2 separate regions of the Homo sapiens genome follow, and region 2 is linked to region 1. Evidence: promoter capture Hi-C in 16 types of primary human blood cells and fetal thymus (Javierre and others, 2016). All regions are on one chromosome and are shown on one strand. Each heading gives the region's core, a stretch centred on a gene start or on the middle of the fragment in contact. The rest is flanking DNA. Distances are from core to core; before and after follow the strand shown.

The links. Contacts are between HindIII fragments. The CHiCAGO score rates a contact against its expected background, and 5 or more counts as called.
Region 2: a fragment that was not itself captured here is called in contact with the fragment with the promoter of CAMSAP1 in region 1 in 1 of 17 cell types (neutrophils); the score reaches 5.7 in neutrophils.

What each region holds. Positions count from the first base shown.
Region 1 is chr9:135,905,117-135,909,985 of GRCh38, reverse strand. It overlaps CAMSAP1 (calmodulin regulated spectrin associated protein 1), which reads left to right and starts at 2,440. Exons shown (of 17, transcript NM_015447.4): 1 at 2,440-2,986. The coding sequence starts at 2,827. CAMSAP1-DT (CAMSAP1 divergent transcript) reads right to left here and starts at 2,153. Exons shown (of 2, transcript XR_007061860.1): 1 at 1,067-2,153. RefSeq lists silencers at 1,872-2,551, 2,592-2,701, 2,782-2,851, 3,252-3,301 and an enhancer at 3,948-4,869. The HindIII fragment of the contact is 15,122 bases long and covers 1-4,869 here.
Region 2 is chr9:134,019,227-134,024,095 of GRCh38, reverse strand. No RefSeq gene overlaps it. Among named protein-coding and RNA genes, the nearest start is that of BRD3OS, 3.8 kb to the left of the region's middle. The HindIII fragment of the contact is 3,675 bases long and covers 657-4,331 here.

The DNA of each region.
Region 1 (4,869 bases), core at 1,191-3,690:
GAGTTCAAGACCAGCCTGGCCAACATGGTAAAACCCCATCTCTACTAAAAATACAAAACTAGCTGGGCGTGGCGGCCTGTGCCTGCAATCCCAGCTACTCAGGAGGCTGAGGCAGGAAAATCGCTTGAACCTGGGAGGCAGAGGTTGCAGTGAGCCAAGATCCAGCCACTGTACTCCAGCCTGGGTGACAGAGTGAGACACTATCTCAAACAAACAAAAAATAGGTTTTATCAGGTTGAGGAAGTACCCTTTTTTTTAATGATTTTTAGACAGTTTCCCTTTTTTAGCTGGGATTACAGGCACCGGCCACCAACCTCAGCTAACTTTTTGTATTTTTAGTAGAGATGGGATTTCTCCATGTTGGCCAGGCTGGTCTCAAACTCTGGACCCCACGTGATCCGCCCGCCTCGACCTCCCAAAGGGTTGGGATTACAGGCGTGAGCCACTGTGCCCAGCCTGATAAAACCTATTTTTTAAGCACCCACAGCTATCATCATACCCAAAGGTGAAAGACTGGATGCCTCCTCCCTGAAATCAGGAGCAAGACAAGGATGTCCACTCTTGCTGCTTCTAGTCAATATTGTACTGGAGCTTCTAGATAGGGCAGCTAGGCAAGGAGAAGAAATAAAAGGCATCCAGATTAGAAAGGAAGAGATAAACTGATCTCTATTCACAAATGACACGCTTTTGTATAAAATCCCAAGGAATCCACTAAAACACTAGAACAACTAATAAATGCCACTAAAAGACAAGAAGAACTAATAAATGGGTTTAGCAAGGTTGCAGGATAAAAGATCAGTACACAAAAAGCCCTTAGAGTCACACTTGACCTTTCCGGGTCACACTCCACATCCCATATAACAGTAGATGGCCTCCTGCCTCCTCCTCAGCCCTTCCTAGTCTGTTCTTCACCCAGGAGTCAGAATGACCCTTTTAAAGGGTTAGTCATATCCTTCCGTGTGCTCAGTCTTCCGAAGGCTGCCCATTTCCTGCAGAGAAGGGGCCACAGTTCTGACTGTGCAGGACCTGTCTGCATCCCTCCATGTCCCCACCTCCCATTTCCTACCAGTCCTTCCAGCTCCTGCGTTCTCGACTTAGTGGCCTCTACTGTGTTTCTTACACTCCAGGCTCTCGTGTCTCAGAGGCTCTGTCTGCCGTGCTCCTTGCTCAAGACAGTACTTCTGCAGATATCCTTACCCTCGACGCCCACGTCCCGCCGGTCTTTGCTCAAATAAGTGCCCTCCTCCTATGGCTTTCCTTGACCGCTCTGCCCTGTCCACCTCGTGTTCTTTTCAGACGGCTGACTCAAGAAAAAATAGACAATCTCAACAGACCTATAACAAGTGAAGAGACTCAATTAGTAACCAAAAAACTATGAATCAAATAAGTCATCAAAAAAGCCCAGGCCCAAATGGCTTCAAGGTTGAATTGAAGCCTGCACGTGGGTTGGTATGTGAATGACGGACTGCCTGGGTCCTCTGGGCACCTGGCATTTCATACATGTTCCGCCTCTGGCACGGGGTGTCTCGACCAGGTACAGACAGGCTGGGAGCCCCGCGCCGGGCGCCCGCTCCCTGGAAGCTCGACCTCTCCCTGCCGTCAAGGCGCCGGTGGGCGGCACGTGGGCCGGCTCTCCCGGGGGCAGTTCTCTATTTCGCTGGTGAGGTTCTCAGACCAAATCCTCGGAATGCAAACTCTCACGGCGTTCCCGTAATTCTCAGCCCAGCGCGGGCCCCGACGCAGGCTCCAGGGGAACGAAGTCAGCGTCCCTTCCGGGGGATGCGCCGGCGGGGCCGCACCTGTTTCTGCCTCAGGGGTCCAAACGCCCACCTTCCCTGCACCGGGACGGGGGTCTGGAGACTGGCACGTCCACCTGGTGCCCGTCTGCTGGGCTGTCGCCTGCCGAGGTCGCCGCCGGCCACACCCACGAGGTCCCCAGGGCGCCGGCGGCGAGACCTCGGCCGGCCAGGGGGCCGGGCTGTGGCTGAGGTGGGACGAGCCAGGGCCGGGGAGGAGACACGGCGCTAAAAGAGGGCAGCTGCGGGCTCGGCAGGATCCCCGCCGCCGACCCACTCCACCCACCCCGCGCCGCCCACTCCCCGCTGCCTACGCCGCGCTCCACACCGCGGGCCTTAGAGCCTGAGGAAAGCAACGGGGCAGGCGCGGACCAGGGCGGGTCCTACTGCGCCTGCGGAAGCGGGCGGGGAGGGGCGGGTCGACGCTCACTGCGCCTGCGGAAAGGGGCGGGGCAGGCACAGGCCTGCGGGTGCCACCTACTGCGCCTGCGGAAAGGGGCGGGGCGGGCGCGGGCTGGCGGGCGGTGCCTACTGCGCCTGCGGAAAGGGGCGGGGCAGGCGCGAGAAGGGAGCGGAGCTGGGGGCGGGGTCGAGGGCGGGGTGGCGGGCGGTGCCTACTGCGCCTGTGCGAGGCCCCGGCGGTGAGCGCGCTCCCGCTCCTTGGCCACCGCCTCAGCCGCTGTCGCCGCCGCCGCCGCTCACCCGGGACCGCGCACGCGCTGCCACCGCCCCCGGCCCGCTCCCGCCCCCGCGCCCGCCCCCGCCCCCGGCCCGCGCCCTCCTGCCGCCGCCTCTTTGGGCCGCGGGCTCGGCACCTCCTCCGCTCGGGCTCAGCGCCCGCAGCATGCAGCAGCCGCGGGGGCGGCGACGGCGGCGGCTGTGAGGTGAGGCGGGGGCCGCGCTCGGGCGCCCCTCCCGGCTGGCCGGCTGCGGGGCCGAGTGGTGGCTCGGGGCGCACCGGGCCCGGCGCGGCGAGGGGCGGCGGCGCCTTTGTTGCGGCCGGGCCGCCGCCTCAGCCCTTTGTCTGCAGATGGTGGACGCGAGCGGCCGCGCCGCCGCCGAGGGCTGGAGGAAGATGGAGGCCCCGCCGGACGGCGCCGCCGACCTCGTGCCCCTGGACCGCTACGACGCGGCGCGCGCCAAGATCGCCGCCAACCTGCAGTGGATCTGCGCCAAGGCCTACGGCCGAGGTGGGCCGGGTGAGGGGCGCGGGGCGGGGGCCAGGGGCGCGGGCCGGGGCCGGGGGACGCGGCCGGGGTCCGGCCGGGTCGGGGTCCGCGCGCCGCGCCTTTGTGCCGCGTCCGCACAGGGTCGGGGCTGGGCCGGCCGCCTCCGAGGTCCTGGCGGCGCCCGGGCAACGCGGAGCGTGGGGACGCGGTCACCTGGCGAGTGGGCGTCCCTGCGGCGGAGGGCGGCGTGGGTCGGGGCTTCCGCTCCTATTTCGGGAGTGCCCCCAGCCTCCCGTTGGCGGCGGCGGCGGCGGGAAGGAGCTGCCCGGTTCTGGGCGCAGGGAGGGACCATGGGGACGCGGGGCCGCCGTCTGAGGCGCCGCTTCCCGGCGCGCCGGGCATCGTCCAGTGCTGGACCTGTGATTCCGAGCCTTGCACTTGTTATGAATTTTGATGCTTACAAGCTGTCAGCTGTTGAATTCCCCAACTAGAAATTGCGTATTCCGCGCATTGTGCTTAATCATAATGATCCCCTTTGGTTAATTCCTGTTTGGAAGAACTAGGTAACCTTGTTACTCAGTCCAGTTTGTTAGGCCCTAATGTGCTTAGTGGATTAAGACGCTTCTGTTTCGTGCCCTGGGAACAGGACAGACCTAGTGATTCTCGTCAGTGGCTGACTTCTTTATTAATTTCAGGTGCTTTGTTTCAGGTACAATTAAAGGTTAATATTTCTGCAATCCTCTTTTCATTTGAAGCATTCTTAAAATATTTGCCTTTATTCTGGTGAAAAATTACCCTTTTTAGAGTAAGACTAAAGGAGACAGCCCTTCCAGAGAAGAGTTCAGTTGACCAGTTTGGAAAACGCTGAGTAGGCGTTGCCCTGTTTGACAGTGGCCTGTGCCCCAGCTAGACTCGAGTTAGTCATAAGGACAAACGCGTTTTGTAAGTTTTAGGGATTAAATAACTCGCCTTATTTCAAACTGGTTTTTGTACTGTGTAAGTAGTAATTGGGAAAGAGTTTTTCCTTTGACAGTTTTCAGTTTTACAGTTCTTGTTTACTGGCTCAGTGGAACCTTAGTTTCTGTGTTGTAATGAGGAAGAAACACTGCTACATCCAAGACTTCACATGAGTTTTTGAGAACGGAATTGGTAAGATGTAGGTATGAAACTTGAGTCAGGTGCAAAGAACAGCCCGAGAGCGGACGCCTGGGTATCTTGCAGTCACTGCCGGCTGCGTGGGCTCACCTGCCTCACACCTTGTGTTAGTCACTGTTTTGCTTTTCTTTGTATTTTGCCGCATGTGCTTACACCACGAACTAGTTTTTACACCTTTGCCAATGATGTCTCTTTCTGAGACTGGCTTTTGTTATTCCCTTATCCCACGTTACGTTCTTAGGTTCTTCTTGACTTCATCTTCACTTTTCCACATTTCCGCTGCTGTGGAGTGTCTCACTGAGGACTGTTCACCGCAGCTGCTCGTGGGCGCTGGCTGGGCTCCCGTAGGTGCTGTGGAGCCCAGTGCATTCTTGGGCATGGCTCCTGGGATCCGAGCACAAAGTTTTACTCCTGCATGTTTTTTAAGATTTTATATGTGGAGAGGGCTGAGGGCTCAGGCAGCGGATGTTAGACAAATTGCTATAAAAAGAACTTTCACGATCTGCTTTCCAATTTCTTTAGCAAGGTGCATGCATTTTTTATTTCATTGCATTTAGCTTTGGCATTCAGCATGGGATTTGTCAGCCATCCAGAAATAAGTACGCGTGTCTCTGTGTTAGTATTGGGTTCGTCTAGTTTCACTTCCGGTACCAGGTCACTCTTTAATCCTTGTTGACTCATCGGATGATGAATTCACAATCTGATACTAACATGGGCTTTTGAGTTCTGGAATTATTAAAAGGTGGGCA
Region 2 (4,869 bases), core at 1,245-3,744, 1.9 Mb after region 1:
GTAGAGACAGGGTTTCACCATATTGGCCAGGCTGGTCTCGAACTCCTGACCTTGTGATCCGCCTGCCTCGCACTTTCTTCACAAGTACCTACACAGGACGTTTAGCAAAACTGATCACATGCTGGACCATAAATCAGTTTCAACAAATTTGAAAACGTTTAAATCTTACATGATCTCCCAGTCTTCCGACCTGGGAAAAGACAGCAACCGAAGTTATACTGCTTTCAAGAGACACAAGAACAGGCCTGTATTCAAAGACCCATTTAACACTTTTACCTCTATCTGGCTGGGTGCGGTTTTCACGCCTGTAATCCCAGCACTTTGGGAGGCCTAGGCGGTCACATCACTTGAGGTCAGGAGTTCGAGACCAGCCTAGCCAACATGATGAAACCCTGTCTCTACCAAAAATATAAAAAATTAGCCCAGTGTGGTGGCAGGCGCCTGTAATCCCAGCTACTCAGGAGGCTGAGGCAGGAGAATCTCTTGAACCCAGGAGGCGGAGGTTGCAGTGAGCTGAGATTGCACCATTGCACTCCAGCTTGGGTGACAGAGTGAGACCCCATCTCAAAAAAAAAAAAAAAAAATTGCCTCTAAGCTAATATAATTTGTTCTATGCCTTGAACTAAATAATTTGAATATTTAGTTACCTGTAAGCTTCCTTTTCCTGTCGTTGTCAAAACCAAATAGGACTTATATTTCTGTTCGAAACATTTACTTATGTTTTGTTTTCCAGAGTCAAAAAGCTGTTTTTCCTTTTAAGCTATTTTATAGCTACAACAATTAAGTAAAAAATGAAGATTACCTCTCTTTTTCTACCTGATATCTCCAGAATCTGAAAATGATTTAAAATCCCATTGGCTCCAATCTGATTTGATATCAAACACCCTCCCTCTAGGCCCAGGGACAATTGCAGAAGAGGTAAACGCATGAGATTGTAAGGGCTGGTTTCGAGGGATAAAATTTGTTCAGACCCTCTGAATCAAAGATGGTTCACAAATACCTAAATAGCTGATAGCTCAATACATAAAACTTAGAGATAAGTCAATTTTGTAACCTCACGTTTTGGATTTTGGTTTTTGCCTCTTATGTTGCACAAAAGGTTGTTTTTTGTTGTTGTTGTTGTTTGTTTTATTTTGATTTTTTTGAGATGGAATCTCGCTCTGTCGCCCAGACCGGAGTACAATGGTGCAATCTCAGCTCACTGCAACCTCCGCCTCCCAGGTTCAAGTGATTCTCCTGCCTCAGCCTCCCGAGTAGCTAGGGTTACAGGCATGTGCCACCATGCCTGGCTCATTTTGTATTTTTAGTGGAGACAGGGTTTCACTATGTTGATCAGGCTGGTCTCAAACTCCTGACCTCGTGATCCACCCGCCTCAGACTCCCAAAGTGCTAGGATTACAGGCATAAGCCACCGCACCTGGCTGCACAAAAGGTTTTTAAGGGTGAATGAGTGCCTGCCCATCTCCTTTCCTATCTGTCCTAAAACATTTAATTAGCTGTCTTTCAGTCTTTTGGCTCTAAGTCTCTTGGCCATAGGGATCCCACCAAGGGACAAGATGGACCCAGTGCAGGTAGCACACAGCCCCAGCAACGATATAGGACAAAATAAAAGTTTGGTCATCAATGCCATCTCTGGCAAATCTTGGCCAAAAGAAGGGAATATAAACTAAAAATAAAATCCTAAACTCCTCACTGACTGAACGGATCCCCTCTTGGCCAAGGGGACCTCAGAAAAAACTTAAAACTGAGTTCCCAGCCACGATGGGATAGGAGAGCCCACTCATGTCGTTATAACTCCTCCCTTTGGTGACTTAGAGACAAGGCACTAGCATTTGCGTTAAAATATGTAAGACTGAAAACATAGAAGACTGAAAAACAGACTCTTTATGGCGATAACATACCAAATTATAAATAAGACCTGTGGCTGGGCATGGTGACTCACATCTGTAATCCCAGCACTTTGAGAGTCCAAGGCGGGCAGATCACTTGAGGCTGAGAGTTCGAGACCAGCCTGGCCAACATGGTGAACCCCCATCTCTACAAAAAATACAAAAATTAGCTGGACATAGTGGCGCATGCCTGTAATCCCAGCTACTTGGGAGGCTGAGGCAGGAAAACCACTTGAACCCAGGAGGTGGAGGTTGCAGTGAGCCAAGATGGCACAACTGCACTCCAGTCTGGGTGACAAAGTGAGACTCTGATTCCAAAAATAAATAAATTAATTAATTAATAAGATTTAGGGCCATGCCAGGCACAAGTTAAGTCCTACACCTCTACAATTAAAGAATAAACTCTATTCTCACTGCCACGAGGTTGTTCCTTTTCTCTAGCAGCTAAGTAAGTACTGACCTCAAGATAAACAATGTTAAAACGATTTGCAGCTCATCCAGCTCCAGATGCTAACTGACCCCATTCACCCACCATAACTAGCTTTCTCTTCTTTTGAAACAGCGTCTCACTCTGTCCTCCAGGCTAGAGTGCAGTGGTGCAATCCTGGCTGAGTGCAGCTTCAACCTCCCAGCCTCAAGCAATCCTCCCACCTCAGCCTCCCAAGTAGCTGGGCCTACAGGTGTGCACCACTAGGTGTACCAGTAGGTCCACCCGGGAGGTGGAGTTTGCACCCAGCTACTTTTTGTATTTTTGGTAGAGATGGGGTTTTGCCATGTTGCCTAGGCTGATCTCAAATTCCTGGGCTTAAACAATCCTCCCATCGTGGCCTCCCAAAGTGCTGGGACTACAGGTGTGAGCCACTATGCCCAGCCAACTACAGCTTTCATTGAACAAGAGACTGATTTCAGCAACTTTCTCCAGGTAAGACCACTGACTATGGATTGGTTCCGGCTGGTTCAGAGAGGCTGCATACTTGTGTGCTTTTGTGTCCTGGAAAGACCTTTTTACTATAAGGCCTAATTTTATTTTATGTATGTATATATTTTTATTTATTTGAGACGGAGTCTCCCACTATTGCCCAGGCTGGAGTGCTGTGGTGCCATCTCGGCTCACTGCAACCTCCGCCTCCTGGGTTCAAGTGATTCTCCTGCCTCAGCCTCCCAAGTAGCTAAGACTACAGGTGTGCACCACGGTGCCCAGCTAGTTTTTTTTTTATTTTTAGTAGAGACTGGGTTTCACCGTATTGGCCAGACCTCAGCCTCCCAAAGTGCTGGGATTACAGGCGCGAGCCACTGCACCCAGCCTATAAGGCCTAATTTTAGTACATTTTGATGCTAAGTCTCCACCCCAAGGTGAACATGAGTTGTATGTTACATGCATGTTTGTTCAGTATGCATGTTGTCAGGACCTTCATGAATATTCATAGCTCCTCCTATAACCTGTTGAATGTGTATGTTTAGCCAACCTGTTCAGCATGGAGCTCCTGCCCCAACCCCTCCTCCTTCAGAGGCACATTTTCCAGCCTGTGGGATGGCCACCTTGCTGGCTGTAACCCTTTATGAGAAAGAAAGTCACCCAGGCGCAGTGGCTCACACCTGTAGTCCCAGCAATTTGGGAGGCCAAGGCGGGCAGATCACTTAAACTCAGGAGTTCAAGACCAGCCTGGCCAACATGGCAAAACCCCATTTCTACAAAAAGTACCTGGGCATGGTGAAAGGCACCTATAGTCCCAGCTACCTGGGAGGCTGAGGCAGGAGGGTTGCTTGAGCCCAGGAGGCAGCGGTCGCAGCGAGTCATGATTGCATCACTGTACTCCAGCCTGGGCAACAGAGTATTTATGGATATTGTGGGGTTCTTTTTTCAATTAACAGTACAAATTCAGGAGAATCTCAGACAAATTATTAAAATTAATAAGACAGGGCTGGGCGAGGTGGCTCACACCTGTAATCCTAGCACTTTGGGAGGCTGAGGCGGGTGGATCACGAGGTCAGGAGTTGGAGACCAGCCTGGCCAACATAGTGAAACCCTGTCTCTACTAAAAATACAAAGAATTAACCAGGCGTAGTGGTGGGTGCCTGTAATCCCAGCTACTGGGGAGGCTGAGGCAGGAGAATCGCTTGAGCCCGGGAGGCGGAGGTTGCAGTGAGCTGAGATTGCGCCACTGCACTCCAGCCTGGGCAACAGAGACAGACTGCGTCTCAAAGGAAAAAAAAAAGTCTTTTTGTTCCTGTCTAGCTGCCCCACCCATTGTCTTCATGTTCCTGGAATATGTGTATAAAAAACAATGGATAGCCAATCAATAGCTTGTTATTTTAATGTAAATTTTTGGTAAACAATTCAGGAACTCCCCTTCTTTTCCTTTAAAAATCCTCTAGTAACCGCTACTAACTGGAGTGGATGTTCAGGGCAACTTGCATGCTCCGGGTTGCAGCCCTCAAGCTTGGCCCAAATAAACTCTCTACTTACATTAATTTTTCCTCAGCTTCTTCCTTTTAGGTTGCAAACCAAAAATAAAATCCTGGCCAGCCATGTTGGCTCATGCCTGTAATCCCAACATTTTGGGAGGCCAAGGCGGGTGGATTGCTTGAGCCCAGGAGTTCAAGATCAGCCTGGGCAGCATGGTAAAACCCCTTTTTAAATAAAAATACAAAAAATTAGCCAGGCATGATGGTGTGTACCTGAAGTCCCAGTTACTTGGGAGGCTAAAGTGGGAGCAATGCTTGAGCCCGAGAGGTCAAGGCTGCAGTGAGCTGTGGTTGCACCACTGTACTCCAGCCTTGGCGACAGAGTGAGACCCTATCTCAAAAAAGTTTTAAGGGCCAGGCACGGTGGCTCACGCCTGTAATCTCAGTACTTTGGGAGGCCAAGGTGGGCAGGTCACCTGAGGTCAGGAGTTTGAGACCAGCCTGACCAATATGATGAAACCCTGTCTCTACTAAAAATACAAAAATTAGCTGGGTGTGGTGGCGGGCACCTGTA